Regions from separate parts of the Homo sapiens genome. Here region 1 is linked to region 2. The links are contacts of gene promoters, found by promoter capture Hi-C in blood cells and fetal thymus (Javierre and others, 2016). All regions are on one chromosome and are shown on one strand. Each heading gives the region's core, a stretch centred on a gene start or on the middle of the fragment in contact. The rest is flanking DNA. Distances are from core to core; before and after follow the strand shown.

Region 1 (5,879 bases), core at 2,380-4,879, 1.3 Mb before region 2:
GGCACTTTACAAATATTAACTAACTTAATCCTCATAACAACCATATAAGACAGACACAATTATCTTCACCCCTACTTTTCAGATGAGGAAACGACAGCACTAAGAGGTACAGTAGGCAGGGCGCAGGGGCTCACACCAATTATCTCAGCACTTTGGGAGGCCACGGCCAGAGGATTGCTTGAACCCAGGAGTTGGAGACCAGCCTGGGCAACATGGAGAAACCCTGTCTCTACAAAAAACCAGCCCAGTGTGGTGGTGTGTGCCTGTAGTCCCAGCTACTTAGGAGGCTGAGGTGGCAGATCCCTTGAGCCCAGGAGACAGGAGGTTGCAGTGAGCCAAGATCATGTCACTGCACTCCAGCTTGAGCAACAGAGTGAGACCCCGCCACAAACAAAAATTAAAAAAAGAGGTACAGTTATTTAGTTGAAGTCACACACCTAGTAACTGGTGGAGTCCAAACTTGAACTCGGCAGTCCACTATGCTGAGCTGCCTCTTCCCATGCACAGCCTCATGTAACGACAGAGACCTCCTATCAGAGGCTCTGAGGCTAGGTAGGATGTATGATTTAAGTTCACTAAACCCTCCACAGATTTGATTTTCAAGTCAGTTAAGACTGGACCCTAGGTAACAGCAACAGAGATCACAACTTTCCTTCCTAATCATTGTTAAATAATGATCCCAAGTGAGTTTTATAGAATTATAAAAACACAAATCCAAAATTTGAATTTAGATGGCATACACGTCATATGGTTTTCTTACCTCCCTAGCTCTTTAGATGTAAGTATATAGAAATTATTAAAGTTTTCCATTTTTATTGGAATTTGAGGAGTTGTAGTTAGTAGGCCTGAAATACTTCGGCAATCAAATCTCCTCCTCGACATGTTAGGTGATTCCCAGGTCTGCTTCTTTAGTCACTTATTTTTACCTATGCAAAAAAAGAGAATACAGAGAAAAGATGTTATCTCAGGCAGGATGTGCATTACATTACACAGCTCCAAATATAGCTATAAAATACAACTAAAAAAAAAAAAGATTTAAAGAGCACATTCTATCCACAAGGAGGAAAAAACAAAAAGCATACACATAAACCATAATAACACTATGGCACTTGAACGAAGTTACTGACTTCATTTCAGAATAAAACTACGGTAAAAATCCTCTCAATTTAAAAAAAATAGTTATGATAAAATTATAATGCAAACAATCACTTAGTTTCATCATAAAACTCCATTCTTTAAAGTTATAGAGGTTTCAGCTGGACATGGTGGTATACGCCTATAATCCCAGCACTTTGGGAGGCTGAGGCAGGAGGATCACTTGAGGCCAGAAGTTCAAAACCAGTCCTGGCAACATAGCGAGATCCCATCTCTATGAAAAAATTTAAAAATTAACTGGGTGTAGTGGCTCGCACCTGTAGTCCCAGCTGCTTGGGAGGCTGAGGCAGGAGCATCACTTGAGCCCAGAAGTTTGAGGTTGCAGTGAGCTATGAATGTGCTACTGCAGTTCAGTTTGGGCAATAAAGCGAGATCTTATCTCAATAAATAAATAAATAAATAAATAAATAAATAAATAAAGTTATAGGTTTCACATAATAGGTAATTTAATACGACAAGATAATAATTATTCATTTTAAACTTATTTTCACATGGCTAAAGAAATTTGGTGGTAAATGCACATATTGTGAGTTATATTACTGACGTGAAGGACTACAAGAAATAGAACTTCTTCCACGGATTGGCTATGTTTCAGTACTAAACTCAGAAACTCTCAAAGGTCTTAAGAGTCCCTCCTTTGACAGGACCTAGCACAGAGCCTGCTATGTATGAAGTGCTCAATAATTTTGTTGGAAGAGTGACTAACCTATACATAAAGCTTTATTTCGAAGTTCTGTATCTGAAGCTCATATATGTATCTGGAAATTTGTGATGTTTATATGCATTCAGTGTTATCAAAACTATTATATTAATTGCATTCATAAAACAATAACAGATACTATATTTCAAGACACTTATGACTTATTGCTATGCCTACTTAATAAAATATCAATTATTATTCTTTTAGCACCCTCCTGTAGTAACCCGCTAAGCATTTGTTCCTCCTCTGACATCTTTTTTTCCTATTTTCTACTTATATGTACTGTTCTTTATCTTCTTAAATTCAAATGCCAACTATAGTCTACTTAGCCAAAAAGCAGTGTCATTAGAGTTCAGCGTTTTCAGTTTCTACATTTTCTCTTCTTGGTGTTATTCTCAAATTATGAACGCGTCACTGCAGTTCAGCCTGGGCGATAGATGGAGACCTTGTCTCAAAAAATTAAATTAAAATTATAGCTTTCACATAACTAGATAGTAAAATTGTTTTCTCTACATCTCTTAGTCTTTGGGGAAACAGCTCTAACTAGTTTTGGGGTACATCTCTAGGAGTCAAAGGGTTGTAGTGTAGCATTCTGAGAATAACCTTTAGACTGAAAGACACCTGGGTCTGAATTCCATTCATCCATCATACCAGCTATGAGACCTTAATTAAATTATTTAACTTTGCTATTGTTATGGGCTGAATTGTGTCCTCCCCCAAATTCCTAAGTTGAAAAACCCTAACCCCTGTATCTCATAATGTGACTGTCTTTGGAGACAGGGCCTTTAAAAAGGTGATTAAGTTAAAATGAGGTCATTAAAGTGGGCCAATTAGGACACAGACACACACAGAGGAAAGACTATGTGAACACACTAGGAGAAGGCAGCCATCTACAAGCCAAGAGGGCAGGCCTCAGAAGAAACCAACCCCGCAGACACCCTGATCCCAGATTTCTAGCCTCCAGAATCGTTGAGAAAATATACTTCTGTTAAGTCGCCTGATCTGCGGCAACACAGTTATTTAAAAAGAAAACAAAATATATAATATTTCAAATGTAAGATAAGGAACACTATATACAAACATTTACTTTCCAATCTTATTACTTGGTCATATTTCATTTAAATTAAAAATAAAACATATTAGACATAGCCCCTTCTTTCCACCCCCAGTTTACACTCCCACTAGCACTGGATGGGACGGTTTATCACTACTTTGACAATACTTGCCCAATTCAGACTTTTAAGTTTGGCTATTCTAGTGTGATGAAGGTGAAATGGAATTTTGTTGTGATTTACTTCGCATTCCCTTTTACTGGTGAAGAAAGCTTCGATTTTGCTGCCTCTAAAGTATGGATGATAAAAGAATTGATCTTCCAGTGCTGCAAGGATTAAAAATTAAAATATGCTGAACTCATGTCCACTGACACAGGTACAGTGCAAGTCACAAGGGCATATCGCTATTGTTCCACAAAACAAAATTAACATTCTACCCAAAAATACTCTCCCTGCAGTTCCCTGCCATTGTTGAACAGCTGTACTGTTTCCATGTACAAAATTCTCATCCCAACTTAGTCTAAACTTCATTCTTAAAAGTATTTTTGTTTTCTGTTTTAACTACTTATGTATCTTCTTAGTTCTGATAGCGCTCAGTTTCACTGATTTTTTTCCATTGTTCTGAAAGATCAATATGGGTACCAATTTCCTCATAAGTTCATCTATTTATTAAAAATATACCTACATCACAAGCTGCTTTAGGCATCCATTAAGCATTTCTTAAGTTCATTTTCCTTTTATTTACTGCATCTGAACCAATTGTCAGAGCCAAGATATTTTTCCATTTCCTCTCCTTTGGCCAGTTTTGCATATAGTGGAGCATGAATGTCACCTTTGTCCACCAAGCCCTCCTCAAACATCTGGTTGCCCTTCATATAAGGTACATGCAGGTTATGAGTCAGCTCTCTGTCGCTCCTTCTTGTATCTTCCTAAATTTCCCACCAAATTCTCTTTAACTCCAACAATTCCCAGGCCTTTTCTTGTCTTCTACCACACTTCATATTACCGATTCTAAATTACCTATATGTCTCACTCCATTTGAAATTCATTTCATAACATTTTATCAGGTTATAGCATTTAAAAAAAATCTTAAGGGACCTGGTAAGTAAATTTATATGCATGTGTATACACGATTAGATCCTATAAAAAGTGTAATAGAAGGTAAGACACAATTAAGCTTTTAATCACACAGTACTACTACAAATAATGGTATCTCACTTATTTTTAAAGATTTTTTTCATTAATTCTCATTATAATAATTACCAAAAGAATTTGGAAGTAGATCAGTGAAGGAAGGAAAAGAAGGAAATGTTAGGCTTGATCTGGGCCTTCACTTACTTGAATGCAGAAAGCAAGTGTGATGTGAACAAAAGCAAGACTATCTCTATAAACCTCTAGCTCTATTTTAAAAAGTATTTATCATGATATTTATTTCAAAATTATCAAATAAGAAAGTTTTTAAAAAATAGAATATACAATAATAAAGACATTTAGAAAATCAAATTGTCTGTTTTGATTCCTTCATTAGCTCCCCAGTATCTACAAGCTTTCAAGTACTTACAGCATGACACATAAAGGCCTCTGAGGCCAAGTATACACCAGCTACATTTCCTGCCGCACTCATATTTCATATTTTGCCACCACATCTTTGTTATACTTCTTTGCCTGAAAAAGCCTTTCTACTTTCCTTAAATGGCTAACTCTTCTTACACATCCTTCAAAACTCAACACAGAATGGCCTCTCCCCCAGGAAGCTTTGCCTAAAAACCACAGGCTGATTTAAAGGCTTCTCCTTTATGCTTCAAATAAGAGGATCCTTGGCATACTTCTTTACCTCAAAATGTAACATGTTAGATTGCAATTCTGTTCAGTGTTTAAAGGGCAGCATCCTTTTACTTTTGTGCCTAAGCAACCAGCATGGTATCTGCCACCCGGTAGGAATTTTAAAAATGTTTGATGAACTGAATTGTAAGAATTATGAGATATAGAAAAAAGAATTTGTAGGTATATCTCATGTCTTCGAGGGGTTAGGAGAACTTGAGATCCATCTTGAATTTACAGTACTGGAGCTCTGAATGCAGCTAGTCTCTGCTTAATTCAGCATTTGGACAAATAAAGTAACTATTTTAAATTGCACTTACAAAATGTCAGTTCTAAACAGGTAGCCACAAAGTCTGGAAACACAGATAAAATTATTTTGTCATATACTATAATGTAATGCCAATAGACCTTTTGTTTTTACCACTGTTTCCAGACAAGGTGGCTACTTGTTTTTAATATAAGCTACTAATACAAATACCTACTGCAGTTAAGAACATCACTCTTTTAAGAGCCTCCAAAAATCAGGAGATTCAGGTAAGTGTCCTATCAAGATTTATCACTGATAAGTCTAGATCATCATGAAGTACATTGGAAAGGCAACAGGAAGCAAAGTAAGCCCGAAGATTCTAAGGGAAGCAACTCCTTTCTACATAGGCATTTAAGGCATTTACTGCTAGCAAGCTTTCCCTAGGAAACTGAAAAAGAGATTTAACGTCCATCAAAAGTAAAGGAAGAACTTTCTCCTGGTGTGGCAGAAGTATGTGTTTTTAATTAGTCATTGATTAGAAGTATTGGTATCAAGATGGAAATGATGATGATTTTCAATTTCAAGGAAGAGATTATATTCCTCATATGTATTCTGCCAACAGGTTTTGTTTTTTAAAATATTTTGAACAGAAAATATAATTCATAAACTTAATCCTCTAAAAATCACAATAGGAAGTCAGCTAAACTAACTCTAATCCAACCATTCTAGTATATACTATCCAAGGGCTGAAGTGTCAGGCAATGACTCCTAGGCCTGACTCTGTGCCAAGACCCTAAGGCCTAATGCTGTGTCTTCCCACCTCCAGAAAAAGAGTTAAACCTGTTAATTGTGAACCAGGATAAAAGGTTGAAAAACGGAAATAGAGTGGGGGATTCCGGGGTGG
Region 2 (5,329 bases), core at 2,830-5,329:
GTGCCTTAATATTAAATTTACACACAGCTTCTGAGACAGTGCTTCTTAATAACACAGAGTTGCGTGGCATGTACTTAAACAGTAACTTTAGGTTCACACAGTAAATAAAATCTCACAATGCCAAAATTTTGAAAATAGGACTAAAACAAGGTAGATGTGTGTAGTTTCAAAAGTCTCACCACTGAACTCATCCTATGCAAATTCCTAACCCAATCATGCTGTTTCCAATAGGGTCCACGACACTTCTCATGTCCATTAGATGATGCAAAAAAGGACCAAAATGGCTAACACTCCCTTATTTTCAACAAGAAGTACAGTTCTTAAATGATAGGAATCTGTTGTGACTATGCCTCTGCAGGTGTCAATTATCTGAAATCCCCTCAATTTAGTACGTATTATGAACTAACAAAATATTTTTGTTTTACATCAGTCTTAATAGTCCCATTTTGCTCAATTGGGAATAGTGCTAGCTCTCTTGTTTGAGAACTGTTACTTCAAAAAAAATCCAATGCAAGGTGCTGGTAAGTCCTCTTCATAACCTTAATTAATACTTGTTAGTGATTTACAGTAAAACTGCTTTTAGTGAAGTATATTCACTTGGCCCATAAACACTGAAATAGATGAGGTAATGATACATTAGTAATGTAGTAATAAATTAGTATGCCAATTCTGACAAAAAATTACCAATAGCTCCCCCCACCTTCACTTACAAGAGGGTTCCTGGTTTGAACCCTAACATACCCTAGATATACATAGCAATTCTGCTGATAGGAAAACCAAGTCTTAGCACACAGCTAATAAATGACAAACATGGGACTAGAATTTAAGTCTATACTGCCATGAACCTCATGAGGAGGAGCAAATTGTTAATTAAGTTGCACTCTAGTTACAAGCACTAACAAAACACAAACCAATAACATGGTGTGTGCTATTAAGAAAAAATAAACTGAGGAAAACATTACTTTCTGACATTCTGAATGATCCAGTGTATTTAGTCTTACTTTCTACAAAACTAAACTAAAAATTAGCCAGGAATGGTGGTGAGTGCCTGTAGTAGTCCCAGCTACTTGGAGGCTGAGGCAGGAGGATTGCTTGAGCCCAGGAGTTCCAGTGCAGTCCAGCCTGGGCTACAGAGCAAGACCCTGTCTCTAAAAACAAAAGAAACCAACTAAGTAAAATATCAAAATTACCTAACAGTACCTACCCACCATACAGCCAAGCTTGCTAAAGGAAAACCCAGTTTAAGATTTCTCCAGGCCAAGAGGAGGAATGAGAGAAGGATTAATTTCCTCAAGTTAACACTTTCCTTAGGTCCAAGGAATCAATGCCTTAAAGCACACTGAAGTTTAGAACACTGTGGTGACAACAGACATTCCTACCTCTCCTGATTTCCACTGGATTAGCACCTTTGCTAATCTTCTCGAAGCCTTCCTTGGCTATAGAGCGTGCCAGTACAGTAGCAGTGGTAGTGCCATCCCCAGCTTCTTCATTTGTGTTATTGGCAACATCTTGAACAAGTTTAGCTCCAATGTTTTTGTATTTATCTTTTAAGTCAATTGACTTTGCAACAGTCACACCATCTTTTGTTACTTTGGGACTTCCCCAACTCTGCTCAATAATCACTGTTCTTCCCTAGAAGAAAAAAATGTAACAGGATCAGACATACCCTAAGGATGATTTACATTTTTAAAAATGAGCAGTCTTCATAATAAAGCAACTACTTCAAAGTCTCAACGTAAGTTGTGTCATTTTTATCAGTCTTGCAGCATGAACCTCAAGGGCAAGTTTATCGACATTCTTTGTCTACAGACAAAATGACCTGATTCTCTGCCAAGAGCATAATTTTGAACTAGGTAATTTAGGAGATTAAAATCCTAGGGACTAAAACTTGTCATCTTATAAAATGAACAAGAACACAAGACAAAGAATAAAACAATCTTCCTATCACTTATACTTTAGTTAGTGCCTGTTATCTTTTAAAGTAATGTGACTTGTTTTAAAATCCGTTTAACTAAAATATTAACCATCAAGGCAAGTAGCGTGCTCTTCCAGGTTCACGCAACATAAAACTTCAACCATGGCACAATTATTGGCCATCCTTTGGATTTGAACTAAAGCTGCTACTTTCTATTTGTGAGGTGTGCAAATGTTGTATTTTAGGCAGTTGTTGGATCACTTGATATCTGAACTGTCTTCAAACTGAAATGAAGCACCACTTGACTGCACACCACCTTCAAAGGCCTCCTCAAAACATTACCCCTATTAAATGAGACTTATTTTAAATATGCTTTGGAACAAGAGAACAGCAGAAAACCGATGGGTAAAACTAGCATCTTGGGGTGGAGGAGAGAATGGGAAGCTACTGTCTAATGAGTACAAAGTTACAATTTTTCCATATAAAAAGTTTTGGAGATGGATGGTGGTGATGACTGCACAACATAAATGTAATTGATGTCCCCAAAGTGCACACTTAATGGTAATTTTATGTTGTGTACATTTTACTACAATAAACCAAAAAAAAATTTAGCATCTACAAGCACATACCTAAGGAATTATGGAAGATAAGTTAAACTCTTCTCTCTACACTTGGCATGAACTACTGGGAAAGGATCCAAATTTTAACTTAAGCCAGCGAAATTCTACCTCGAGTTTAAGAATCCACCTTGAGCTGTAAGTTACTACCTGATTACATCACACATTGAACAAAATAGTTTCGAAAATCTGGCTGAAGCAGTTTAAGCTTTAAGATCATGTCTAAGAAAAAAAGGCTAACCAATACTTCAGAATTCTTACATGTAAACTGAGTTCTCTCAAAAATGGAGATGAAAGTACTGTTGAATAGTTCAGTGCGACTATTTGTGAGTAAAATGCTATTAATAATACCGTAATTACAATAAAATAAAAATACTGGTACCTTTGGCCCCATTGTAACGGCCACAGCATCGGCTAAAAGGTCTACACCTTGAAGCATTAAGGCTCGGGCATCTGCACCAAATTTTACATCTTTGGCATAAGCCCGAGTGAGATGAGGAGCCAGTACCCTGGACACCGGTCTCATCTGGCGAAAGACTGTGGGTAACCGAAGCATTTCTGGGGATGGAAGCAAAAAGATCATCAGAACTACCACCCGTGGTGCGCTGCAGAACAAACATGCCCACCTGTGCAACAGAGCAAGCAACGTGAGATGCTGAGCCTGGCTGACCTCCGCCAGCCACTACGCCTGAATGACGGAAGGCGCCGCAGCTTCGGAACATCAGCCACTAGCGCAAGCTAAAGAGGCCGCCCCGGCCGGCGCCTGACCTATAGCACCAGCACAAAGCACATGCGGCTCCTTCCCCACGGCCACCTATCCCTGCCGCCAAAAACGAGTTAATCTTTCACCGCGAAAACGGCCTTGTGGGCAGACCCACTCCAACTGTGGCCCCTGAGAAACCAAGTCAGCCGGAGAGAGGCAAGTTACAAATCCAAGTGACCAGGGAAGTTAAAAGTATTCCTGACGGTGCAAAAAGCCGCTCAGCAAAGTGTCTCCATGGATCCACCCAAGGCTACTGTATCAGAGCAACCAGCAAGGCCGCGATGCTGGGGGCGGCGGCCCGGCCCACTCGGCGCGAGCCCACGTGTCCTTCTTTCCGAACGCCCCCAGCAAGGTCAAGACTGGAGGCGCGGTATCCCAGCTGCCTGCGGGGGAAAAAAGCGGTTCCCTCACGTACACCACCCTCCCCGGTTCCCTGAAGTCGGCCAGGCGCAGGTTGCACCAGCGGGCCTAAGTGGTTACAATCCCCCAAATTCAAACCCCACGAGTTGTCCCTCCCGCGCCCAGCCGAGGTCCAGGATCCGCGTCGCACGTGATGGAACCCGCATGGACCCGCGAGGCCTGGACCCGCAGGCCTGGGCCTGCGGTGCGGCGCGGTGCGGAACTCCAGGTTGTCGCCGCCCGCACCCTCCAGCTGGACCGCAGAGGAGGAAGGCCCACTCGGGGGTCGCAGGAGCCGGGGGGAGGTGGTGCGGGAAGGCCGCGTACCTGCGGGGCGGCGGCAAGGCGTGCGCTCGGCGAGACAGGTCGTCGGCGGCGAGTGAGGGACAGAGTGCAGGGCGCACACCGCAATGAGCCCGTGTCCCCTCCCTCCGCCTCTACTCCCGCCCCGCGGCACCGCGTGTGCAGGCAGCTCCCACCCACTTCCCGTCAGCCCGGGCCCTGCAATCTGCACACCCTGCGCGCGAGCCCCGCCCCTCCCTACCCGCGCAGGGTGTGCTAGCGCGCTCAGCCCTCTCCGGCCGGCTTAGTCTAGTTCCCGGGCCTCGCTCGGTTCCAGAACTTTCCAGAAAATGCCGCGCTCCCTACGGCTCAAGGGTCAAATCGCGTCATTTCCGGGAGGGGACGAAGGGGTAGTTCTTTCACCTCGGCTGGGCGCCTAGAAAAGCCTAGAAACAGCTCCTTTTTTCTTCCGCCTCCGAGTCTTCGCGTCAGCGTCCTGCGCAGGGCCCTTGGGGCGAATCGCGGTGCGCGTCGGGGCGACCGCCCTCCCTCCCTGGGAGGGGCGAGGGGGCTAGCGGCGACCGCTGGGGCGAGCGCGCCTGCGCGCTGGGTGATTTTTTCACGTGTCGCCAGGGCCGGACTGCGAGTCTCTTTGCGGCGCTACACTAGAGCAGAGTACGAGTCTGAGGCGGAGGGAGTAATGGTGAGTCCCGCGTGGCCCCGAGGCCTGCAGGCCCGGGCCTGTCTGAGGCGTACGGGGATCCCTGACGCCCCTCTTTTGTTGGGCTGGGCGGGAGGGATTGGTGGCCACTCAGTGACCAGCGCCCGATGGCACCTTGGAGCGGCAAGGCCCGCCCGACCCTTTTCTCCCCCAGGGCTCTTTGCACGCGCGTGTGCTGCCGGTGTGTAAGGCAGGGGGGCGAGAACCCGGGCGCACGCGCAGCGTCTCACCTGCTTCTGCAGGGCCTTTGTGGATGTGTAATATCTTGGGTAAAAATCATGGTGCCAGGCAGGGAGCTTGACCCAGCGTTTCCTGAAAATTTCTGGAAAAACCTGAAGAAGGAAAACATTTGACCTTGGAATAAACTAAGGTTGACCTTAAAGCTGGTCTGGTTGCTCACCGGAGGAGCGACAACGACCCCTAACAGACGTAAGGAATCGGGAATTAAACTTGGAATATTGGTTAGTACATTCAAATGCGCTTCCTTAACGAATAAGCTGAGGTTTGGTGTTAACTTTCAAAGCCAAAACGTGTTGAGATGTATAGCACGGTGGCGTTGCCTGTTGATAATGTGATTACATTTAGTTTTTGTTTCAAAACATTTCTCTTCCTACAGGCAGGACAAGCGTTTA

What was found. The method cuts DNA at HindIII sites, captures the fragments that hold promoters and counts their contacts. A CHiCAGO score of 5 or more calls a contact.
Region 1: a fragment that was not itself captured here is called in contact with the fragment with the promoter of HSPD1 in region 2 in 1 of 17 cell types (fetal thymus); the score reaches 5.9 in fetal thymus.

What each region holds. Positions count from the first base shown.
Region 1 is chr2:196,162,502-196,168,380 of GRCh38, forward strand. STK17B (serine/threonine kinase 17b) reads right to left here. Exons shown (of 8, transcript NM_004226.4): 2 at 761-926. The coding sequence starts at 882. Among named protein-coding and RNA genes, the nearest start is that of STK17B, 6.1 kb to the right of the region's middle. RefSeq lists an enhancer at 4,660-4,729. The HindIII fragment of the contact is 905 bases long and covers 3,178-4,082 here.
Region 2 is chr2:197,495,761-197,501,089 of GRCh38, forward strand. It overlaps HSPD1 (heat shock protein family D (Hsp60) member 1), which reads right to left and starts at 4,080. Exons shown (of 12, transcript NM_002156.5): 1 at 4,022-4,080; 2 at 2,915-3,090; 3 at 1,380-1,632. The coding sequence starts at 3,088. It overlaps HSPE1-MOB4 (HSPE1-MOB4 readthrough), which reads left to right and starts at 4,619. Exons shown (of 9, transcript NM_001202485.2): 1 at 4,619-4,679; 2 at 5,314-5,329. The coding sequence starts at 4,677. It overlaps HSPE1 (heat shock protein family E (Hsp10) member 1), which reads left to right and starts at 4,619. Exons shown (of 4, transcript NM_002157.3): 1 at 4,619-4,679; 2 at 5,314-5,329. The coding sequence starts at 4,677. RefSeq lists silencers at 3,960-4,289, 4,480-4,539 and an enhancer at 4,680-4,739. The HindIII fragment of the contact is 3,758 bases long and covers 2,739-5,329 here.